Regions from separate parts of the Homo sapiens genome. Here regions 2 and 3 are each linked to region 1. Evidence: promoter capture Hi-C in 16 types of primary human blood cells and fetal thymus (Javierre and others, 2016). All regions are on one chromosome and are shown on one strand. The core of a region is centred on a gene start or on the middle of the fragment in contact, and the rest is flanking DNA. Distances in the headings are between cores, read along the strand shown. Region 1 holds the start of DCUN1D4 (defective in cullin neddylation 1 domain containing 4). Region 2 holds the start of CEP135 (centrosomal protein 135). Region 3 holds the start of EXOC1 (exocyst complex component 1).

Region 1 (3,285 bases), core at 536-3,035:
ACCGCCTCCCGAGAGCGCGCAGGAGCTGGCCGGGGAATAAAGCACGAGTTGGCCGAGCAGGAAGGCTCCAAGGGCGCGCTGCATGCCGGGACCCGTTTCCACAGTTACCCACGTGCACCCAACCCAACCGCGGCCGGGCGCGGCCGCGACTACAAGTCCCAGAATTCGGCGGGACCGCCTTTCCCCTTCATACCCGTTGACTGGAGACAAACCCTAAAGGAAACCCCTCAAGCGCCCTCCCAGCACGCCTGGGAGAAGTCGCGCCCCCCGGGCGTGGGGCGCGGCCTAGGGCCCGGCCATCCCTCTAAGGAAGCGGGTTCCATGGCACCAACCCCCACACCTGATAGCCAGAAATTAGACAACTGCGTCACAGACTATCAAACCCACGGACTGCCAGGGACCCCGACACCTCCCCGGCGCCAAGCCCCCGACCCGGCCATCAGGGCCCGACCCCTCCGGCTCCCGCTGCTGAAACCCCGCAGCCCGCACCCCTGCCCCGCCTCCTAGTCCCGCTGCCGGAGCCCGCGCCAGCGCTGACCTCGCTTCCCGCCGTCCGGGGGGAACCACGGCCAGTTCCAACCTTAGGGCACTTACCCCGTCTCCTCCACCTCAGCCCCGCCCCCTCCTCTCTCCGCACCCCGAAGCTTGGACTCCCCCCTTCAAGGGACCCTGCCTCGACAGGGAGAGGAAGTACCTCCCCTAAGCACAGTCTGACACCCCCTTAGCCCGGCTCCGGACCGAATCTGGACGTGACAGTCCTCCTGCCCAACTCCGCCCCACCTCCCCTTCCTCCCCGACTAGCTCCTCACCCCCATTTCATATTCTCCACCCCTGCCCCCACTCTGCCACCCCAAATCCTACCCACCTTTTTCTCCTCTTCCTCCCAATCGCCCTACCCTTCCACACCTGCCCCATCTCTTTACCCCAACATCTTCCACTCCCACCACTCTCCGTTACCCACCGCCCTTCCAACGCCCCTCCCGCCCCGCAGGACTCCCCAACTACCATTACACCCCAGTCCCTCCCACCACCTCGCTTTCCCGTTACATCAGCCCTCGTCCAGTCGCCCGCCCTCCTGCCCCGCTCGGCCGCTGCCCCCATTCCCCCACCCCATTGTTCGCCGCCCCCCCCCCACCCCCCCGCCAACCAGCCCTTCTTCCCATTGTCCCCGCCCCCGCGCCCCCCTCGCACTCACCCGCCTTTCTCACGGAGCCGCCCGCACCACTCAGCCCTTTGGAAATCCTCACCCTTGTGCCCCGCTCGCTCGCTCGCTCCCTCCCTCTCCCCGCCGGTGCCACCCCCCCACATCCCCGGCCCTGCCCGCTACAGCCCAACGCTGCCTCCACCTCCATGCACCCCGGACACTCCGATCTCGGCCCTTCATCGCACGTCCAGCCCTCCCTTCCCCCAACACTGAAAGAGAGCCAGTCCCCACCCCCCTCACCTCCGCCCTCCCCGCAGGCCGGTCCCTTCCCCCCACGCCCGCCCCCGCCCCACGCCGCCCGCAGCGTCACCGCCCGCCCCGGCCCCGGGAGGGGAAGGGGTGGTTCCCAGGCAGGGGCTCCCGGCGCGTTTCGGGACCCGAGGCGTGGGGCGGGGACTGCGGGAGCCGAGTGGCGAGTTTGGCAGCCGCCCGGCCCCGGCCCGCTGGCTGGCTCTCTGCTACTCACTGACAGCGGCGGCATCCGAGTGCATTTTCAGGCAGCTCACACCCGGCTCGCCGCCCAGGCTCCCGCGCTCGCCTCGCGGTCCCCCCACCAGCTCACTGCACCTCGGCTCGAAGCTGAGGACCCGCCGCCGGGCACTCCCAGCCCGCCCATCTCGCCTTCTCCATTGGCTAAACCGCGGCTCAGGGGCCGCCCTGCTGCGTCTCTCATTTGACAAAAGGAGTGCCCATAGCGCCGGTCTGGAGCTGGCAACGAGGCCCCGCCCCCCACTGGCCAATACGATTGGTCCTGGGGCCTTGTCTCCGTAACGCCCCTGGCGGAGGCCATGCTCCGGAGCAGCGGGTTGGGCCCGGCTGCTGTCAGTCACCCCCAGGGGTCCGAGAGCGCGTGTAGGGGCGAAGCTGGGAAATTGGTCCACCTTGACCCTGAAACCCCGCCCAGTGGCGGGCGGGATTGGTGGAGCTGGAGACCCACCAAGAAAGATGGGTCGGCGTCTGAAACAAAGCACGCGAAGTGTTTCCCAAAGAATAGAGCAGCGCAGCGCAGTTGGGGGCGGCTCGTACCAGCTGCTGGAAGTAGGGAAATGCGTCCGTCCCTAGCGCCCGGCGCGACGCGGCCGGGTCTCCCGCCACTTGTCCCACGACACTTGTCCAGTTCGCGCCGAACTCGGACTGGGACTTCTCTTGTCAGCTGCTTCCTACCGCAGGAAACTGGATTAAGAATTGCCGCGTCTTAATTTCCAGCAAACCTTCTGGTGGGGAGCAAATTTCCATTTCTCCTACGAAGATCCATCCTCTCCCCACTTTCGAAATGTACTTCTTTTCCAGAGTCCGCATACTTGTTTCGCAGAGTTCGCACACTTCTTTCCTCTAGTCACTAATGTCTGTTAAAGAGGCTTCGAATGCCACGAGCATTGTCCGTCACACACATCTGTATGCCCCAGACATCAGACAGAAATACAGGGCCGCGCTCTGAGCTGCGGACTGAGCCTAACACATGGACGAGTCCAGGGGGCAGACCACCAGCCCGTGAAAGACCCCCGGCGGCATCTAAGAAAACCTGTCACTCCCGCGGAGAGGCCGTCCAGAAATTGAAACTGGCTGTTATTTGGCAGAGGGAGACGTTAATTTTGGTGAATTCTTCTGACCCTAAGTCAAGAATTCGCACCATTTCCATGAGTCCTGCCCTGATTTTTCAATACTTGAAGCTAACTTATCACACCGCATTATGGTAACAGAACAATATTTCGAGATATTAACGGAGGATTCCCCCCACCCCAACCCACCCCCACCCTACCCTGCCTCCACCCTCATCCCAGCCACCAACTCCAACAACAACACACCTACAAGGCATCCCCATATCCTAAGGCCCTGGGCCATCTGGGAGCCTCAAAGAGTAGGTGACACCACAAATCACAGGTAACAGAACGCACGGTCTTTTTGGTTTTAGATTTCTACAGCCCAGGCTTTTGGGTTTCCAGGCTCTGAAATTTAGATTTTAAATCAGGACACAAATGTTATGCTATTTGGAAGGGGCTCAGACAAACCAGTTTCTGTGTCCCACAGCACTCCCATGGTAAAATGCTCCCTCCATCTTAATCGCTAATTTCTCTTTAATA
Region 2 (3,285 bases), core at 464-2,963, 4.1 Mb before region 1:
ATTTCTTTTTTTTTTTTATTTTAATTGTTACCTTTTTTAGAGACAGGGTCTTGCTATGTGGCCCAGGCTGGTCTCCAACTCCTGAGCTCAAGGTATTCTCCCACCTCTACCTCCCAAAGTGCTAGGTTTACAGGTGTGAGCCAATATGCTCAGCCCAAAGATCATTTCTTTAGAAACTCTGCTCTTTTCTAACCTTTGCTAACTAACTGTAGTCATGGTACTCGTATTTCTAAGCCAAATAAAAATTTTGTTTTACATCTGTTGTTCTTCACAATATATAAAAAATGCATTACATGCATGAGCATACATGTAAAAGTCGATCCTCACAGCTACCCTGTGAGGGAGAAAGACCAATGATATTATCCCTACTTAAACATGAGGAAAGGCTGCCTCAAGAAAGTAACTCTTCCAAAACCACGGGGCCACAAAGTAGGTGGGCAGTCATCAGAGACCAGGTCTCCTGAGTCTCTCCTTGGTCACTCCTTTCTGTATATCTTTCTCTTTGCTCTTGTTAACTTTTTTTGAATGGCTTCCTCATAGATTTCCTAGGTTCTTTCCACAAGAGACACCTAAGTGATGCAGGGTTTTTAGGGAAATTCCTGCAGACATCAGAAATACACCTGACAAATCCAGGTGTATTACTAGCAGGGTGTAAACTTACAGGCGGTGCACCACTCAAAACATTTCCCCTCTTTGCTACCAACTCCAGTTACCCAGAGATAATACCTCCTCACATCCTGCTTTGGAGGGGAGAGAATGAGAATGAATATGAATCAATAAATCATGGCCAGGGCCTCAATACACAGGACGGATTAAAATCCTCCCAGATAGAAACATGTTAGGCCGTCCCCACCCATGAACTGTTGTCTTTCCCCATAACCCCCATCCAAATATGGTGGCTATACTCTAAGTTTCTAGCAAAGCAACATAAAAGGTTAGGTTTGGGGGTCCCCCATACATATATGTGTAGAAGTATCCATCTACTTAACTCTGGGGGTTGGCGTCTCAAAACCAGTACATTTAATGCTGTATGTATGTGTGCACAGGGCTTAAGAAGATAAACAAGAAACCCCAAACGACAACAAAGAAACCCGTTAGCTGTGGTTATCTCAGAGTCCTTTCTTATTGAACTCAAAGTAGTAAAGGCTGGAAAGCAGTGGAGAGGCTTCAAAGGAGCTGGGCAAAGGTTAATTAAAGGCTGTCGTCCTACGCTTTGCGACATTTTTGTTACAAAGAGCATGGATGACTGCTACACTGAGAAGGCATTTTAATGTTTAAATCTATCCATTGGTCAACAGCAAGCCTGTCTGCACGGCCCACACAGACGCTCCTTGACGAGTCGGCCCAAGCTCTCCTCCACCCAATCTCCGGTTTGCAACTTTACCGTCGGGTGTTGACGGGAAGGGGGTGTGGGAGCGGGGTGGGTGGGAAGAGTCCCCGCGCCCCTCCCCGCCCGGTCTGACCCGGCCTGGCCTCACTTCCTCCCGCGGCCGCGCGGCCTCCCGGCAGTGCCCGAGCCCGGCCCGCGGGTACCGCCCAGAAGGCGAAGGCGCCACCACCGCCGCAGCTGGCCCTCTGGCTCCCACATCCGGACTCACCGGCAGCTCCAGCCGCCGTTGCCTCCGCCTCCAGCCGCATTGCCCTCAGGCCTCGAGTCCCCCACTAGCTCCTTCCGTCCAGGCACGGGCTCCGGCGCTAGAGCAGTTTGAAAATGGCGCGGAGGGACGATCGGGGCCGACACGGAGGAGGCGCCGCGGTTGCCCCGGTAACGGGAGCGGCGGACGATTAGCGGCTCGCGGCGGGGACGCGCTTGGCGACGATGGCGGAGCCCCAGTGCCCGGAAATGCAACGGCCCGGACAGCGCGAGGCCACGGCGCCCCCTGGAGGTCGGCGCCCGCGGCCAGCAAATGCCAAACCTCAGCTGGTGCCTGAGCTGGCATCCTCTTCCTCCTGTCGGCGGGAGGTGTGGATCACCTACTGCGTGCGGGGAACAAACGCCGCCCCAGTACCGGTCCCTGCAGCGGAGTAGCCTTCACCTGCAAGGTGAACGCCTGCTCACCACGTAATCCCCAAACGCAGATATCACGTTGTCTCTGCAACTTTCCCTGACAACCACCCAATGCAATTAATTATCCCACAATAGTATCTCCCGCAGGCTCTCTGTAGAACCATAGAATTCATCCATCAAAATACAATCATTTGTTGATCCGTCTCTCTCTGCCGCCCCCAAATGTGAATTCCTTGAGTCAGAGACTATTCTACTCAGCAAAACATTTGTGAGTGGAATTAAATTGAAATAAACCGTTATAGTCCACTCACAGATGGAAAACACATAGTAAAATCCTAGAATTCCATTTCTCCCCTGAAAATTTCCCAGACAGTCAGAGGGAGTTTCATTCTTTCCTGTTTACTTTTCTCCCAAATAGGCCTTCTGAGGCAGCAGAATAGGGAAGGAAGTCAGAAGACTGACCAGCTCATACCTATGGAATGCCTATCATACATACACTTAAAATTATGGCAAGCTCACGCAGGCGCACTAAGAGAGAAAAAACAAGAAAACAGATATGACAATTATAGGAAATCCCCTCCCTAGAGTTAAAGAAGTGTAGGAAGTGGGTATAAAAGAACAAAGGCTATATTAATCCAGGGCTGACACCACTTGAAGATAAGCCCGTTCCTCTCTCTGGTATATTCTTTGCTTAATAAATCTTGTGGGGTGGTTATTTGTGTGTCTCATCCAATTCTTTGTTCATAACACCAAGAACCTGGAACTCCCAACTTCCAATCTGGTAACATATTTTGGTGAGCCAGCCAGGAGGTAAGCCCAGAAGAACTGGGACTTTTTATTTTCTTTCTTTTTTGCTTCAGCTCTTTCACTTTGGTTTAAAGCTGCCTTCTGCTGGCACGGATTGGGCAGTTAAGAACGAAAAAGGCACTGGCCGCTTGAAGACTCCCATTGTTGCGGGAAAGCAGAGGACCAGAAAGACCAATGGGTGGAGCAGGAGGATTTTATTAAGGTGTGCACTGGCTCCGTGGATTTGCATCCAAAAAGCTGAGCCCTGAACAAAGACAGAGCTTGGCTTATATAGGCTAAATTAAAAAAGCAGAACCAAGGCAGTAAATCACACAGTGACAGGTTTTGTAATCTATAGCATAACTGCTGAAATTTGCATAACTTTTGGCTTTGCTTAGCTGGTGGCCTTGCAGCTGCGTCAAAAGAAAAACAGGAACCTACAAATCTTTCTAAACATAGGCAAAAATAATCATAATTAATGGTCTAAGGAA
Region 3 (3,285 bases), core at 235-2,734, 4.0 Mb before region 1:
TCAAAAACATTCCACTCCAAACACTCTGTTCATTTTGGACATCAAATCTTCACTTTGGTACTTTCCATGTAAGGAATATCATCTCCGCCCTATCCAAACCCTAATTACACTTCATGGTTTACATGAAGTTGATTCAATGAAGATCTTAATCCAAAGTGATCTCTCCTCTAAATTTCTACAGCACTTACTGCATTTGCCGTCTAATGGGCTCATTAAATCATAAGCTTCTCTATCTCAAGAATTCTCTTAAAGAAGGGAGGGATGTTCATCATAGTTTTGTGTTTAGTGGATACTTAAATATCTATTAAGGTAATTAGAACTGAATAGTAAAAACTGGTCAAATGAATAATAGGGACCAACGTTTACCACATACTCCTTCTCTGGCTAAAAGCAACTGAGTGTACAGTAAGAGGCAAAACAAGACAGGATTGGGCATACCTCATAAAGGAGTTAGCCATAATGAAAAGCAGTATGTGACTCTTCATTCATTCAGCAAATACTCATGCTTATTAGGTGGCAGACACTATTCTAGGTTACAGTAGTCAACATGACAGATATGTTTATGAAGACCTGAAGCCGGGTGTTTCTATGGCATTTACATCCTAAGAGTCGAGTGATTAACTCTTCAGTCTTTACGGTACTTTTCTGAAAGTCAGTAAATAAATCCCTAGAGGTCCTCTAAAATTATTCTCCAGGTCTGAGAACCCATATCTGACCACGTTCCAAAGGCAGCCATCCACTGCTTACTCTGTACTGGTTGTTTCCTTCAGCTCAGTTGGACCACCACACTGTGTGACAAATAGCCTGTCAGTGTGAGTGCCCGTGTGCATTGGGCCCTGTATGCTGCTGAGATATATTAATGCATGAAGCATTGCCATCTAGAAGATATAACTGTGCAAGGAAATAGAGAAATACACTTAAGAGATTTGGCGGGGGGTGGGGGGGAGTTGGGGTTGGGGGGCCGGGATGTGAATTTGGACAAAGAGGAAGGCACAGTCACGCTCTCCTCTCCTGGACCACGCCAAAGAGCTTACGATCAGGGTCATTTTGCACAAACAAAATCTGGTTCCGATGGGCGGAACCGTAATGGGGCCCGTGAGGACTGCCCTCCCAGCTCCGCATTCTCCTAGACCCGAGGACAAGGGACTGGAGAATGCTCTGACCAAACTTCGTCTTACCGGGACAAACGGGGAAAGGAAGGTCAGAAGGAGCGGTGCCCGACCCCAGGCGTGGAGACAGCAGCCGGACTGAGGAGCCGCCTTAGACCCTGGTGCCTGTCAGCTCGTCTGTCCGCCGCCGCCGGGACTACCGGGCAGCCGCGGCCGAAGGCTTACCGCAAGGCCGGACTGAGCCTGGCTGTGCCGAGGCGGGTCTTCCAAAACGGAGACCGGATGGGGGCCACTAGGATACGCCCCTCAATAAAGCGTTGAACGGGAAGCGGCCGTTCCCCCAACACTTCCTATATCCGGGCACGTGACAAACTCCGCGCCGGAAGTTGACCGCGTAGAGAAGGAAGAAGCAGCGATGGGAGAAAAAGGGAGCGGCCAATAGACGCGGAGGGGCGGGGCGCCAACCGACGGGCGTGGCCAGGCGGAACAAGGCCTCATTGGAGGGGCGTGTCAGGGAAGGGCAGGGGCGGGGCCTTTGTGGCACAGAAACTGACTTGGGAGTTGGGGATTAAGAGTTATTTATTCAGATATTTGCAGCAATTCATTTAAGAAGAAATTCGATTAAATGTTTTCTTTTTTCATACGTAAAGCTCTATTAACTCTAGATCTTTGCTACTTAAACTTTGGAGAGCTTAAATGAGTTAAATCAGAATCCCTGCGGGTGGGACCCAGACATCAGTACTTTTAATATCTTCCCAGATGATTCTCATATGCAGCTAAGGTCAAGAACCATTGTCCTCATGACCTTGATACTCAAAGTGTGGTCCGTGGATCAGCTGCTTGGGTATCATCTGGGGGCTTTTTAGGAAATGCAGCCTCTCTGGCTCACTTCAGATCTACTGAATCAGAATCTGCATCTTAGCAAGATGATGCTTATGCATATTTAAGTTTGGGATGCATAAATGATGCCAATGTTGCTGGTTGCAGGTAGGTGTTTTATTTATTCAATATTCCTGGCACCTTTTTTTTTTAATGCTAGGCACTTTGATTCCAGGTACAGAGGTGATTCAGGCATGAATCTTAACCTAAAGGAGTTCACAGTGTGGTAGGACTAGACAAGGTGTAGGTACAAATATATATAAAATAGGACACAAAATAAGTGACCAAAGAGAGGTACAGATCAGATAAATGTGCTAGAAATTTAAATGAGCAAACAGTAGTTAGAATACTTTTCACTTTCATCAAATGACTTCCCTTTTAAGAGCAGGATCTGGTTATATCTTTACAAAGACCCTTTCCTGCTTGGCACCGGAATGCTTACTGTGGACACTCTATGACAATTGCATGTGTTTTTTGGTCCTATTATCTTTCTTTTATTTACCTGTATGTTTATAGCCCTCCTCAAAGTTGGGAAATGAATTGCATTTCAGAAGCCTAGATCTCTTTCTTGAACCTCAAGATTTGTGTATATACTGCCCATCGCCTGACATTTCCACTTGGATGTCTTATAGACACCTCAAACTTGTGTGTCCAAAAATTAAATTATCCTCTCTCCTCTTGGATTCCCTGCAAAGTGACACTTATATGCAATAGTTTATTTGGAAATTTGATCCCAGGGAGCAAAATGAGGGAAGAGGAAGAAGACAAAACAAAAAGGGAGATGCAGTATAAGAATGTGTTACTGAGTTGGTCATCACCATATTTGAATGTTTTCTTAGTCCCTTAGGACCTTCTAAGAAGCTTTATGAAATGAGTCTCAGAACTGTCCATTAAAGGAAAGAACGGAGGAAGCATTTGTATGTCGGCTCCTGTCCTCTTTGATCGAAGGTTAATGCCCTTGGGCATTAACTACTTCACACTTACAAATCGCACAGTTGTGAATGCCAAGCTGACTCCCACATCAGAGACATGCTGGGGCAGGAAGTGAGAGGAGAGGTGCTGGTATTTCGCACTTGTTCAAAGGTCATCAAACCTGCTCCGAGCAGGTTGCTGCAGCAGTGGTTAGAATAATAGGCTGAAGGGATTTGAAGTCATGGCCTAAGTTGCACAGAAGGACATAGAAGGTGTCCATATCTTGCAGCACTCTGATCTGCCTGTGTGCTCTGTTATGTTCAGTCCTTCACAGAGGTCTCTTCAAGGTGATGGCCAGCCACAATCTCAGCAAAGCCTTAATATA

Evidence for each region. The method cuts DNA at HindIII sites, captures the fragments that hold promoters and counts their contacts. A CHiCAGO score of 5 or more calls a contact.
Region 2: a contact is called between the fragment with the promoter of CEP135 here and the fragment with the promoter of DCUN1D4 in region 1, in 1 of 17 cell types (total B cells). The highest score is 6.2, in total B cells.
Region 3: a contact is called between the fragment with the promoter of EXOC1 here and the fragment with the promoter of DCUN1D4 in region 1, in 4 of 17 cell types (naive CD4 T cells, non-activated CD4 T cells, total CD4 T cells and 1 more). The highest score is 6.3, in naive CD4 T cells.

What each region holds. Positions count from the first base shown.
Region 1 is chr4:51,841,653-51,844,937 of GRCh38, reverse strand. DCUN1D4 (defective in cullin neddylation 1 domain containing 4) reads right to left here and starts at 1,785. Exons shown (of 11, transcript NM_001040402.3): 1 at 1,671-1,785. The coding sequence starts at 1,695. RefSeq lists silencers at 558-677, 1,228-1,307, 1,408-1,757, 1,848-1,897, 1,908-2,057. The HindIII fragment of the contact is 3,870 bases long and covers 647-3,285 here.
Region 2 is chr4:55,947,373-55,950,657 of GRCh38, reverse strand. It overlaps CEP135 (centrosomal protein 135), which reads right to left and starts at 1,713. Exons shown (of 26, transcript NM_025009.5): 1 at 1,599-1,713. EXOC1-AS1 (EXOC1 antisense RNA 1) reads left to right here and starts at 2,646. Exons shown (of 5, transcript XR_941069.4): 1 at 2,646-2,818. RefSeq lists silencers at 1,308-1,767, 1,818-1,957 and enhancers at 1,172-2,136, 2,755-2,904. The HindIII fragment of the contact is 6,740 bases long and covers 1-3,285 here.
Region 3 is chr4:55,851,847-55,855,131 of GRCh38, reverse strand. EXOC1 (exocyst complex component 1) reads right to left here and starts at 1,484. Exons shown (of 19, transcript NM_001024924.2): 1 at 1,179-1,484. RefSeq lists a silencer at 1,593-1,692. The HindIII fragment of the contact is 2,625 bases long and covers 227-2,851 here.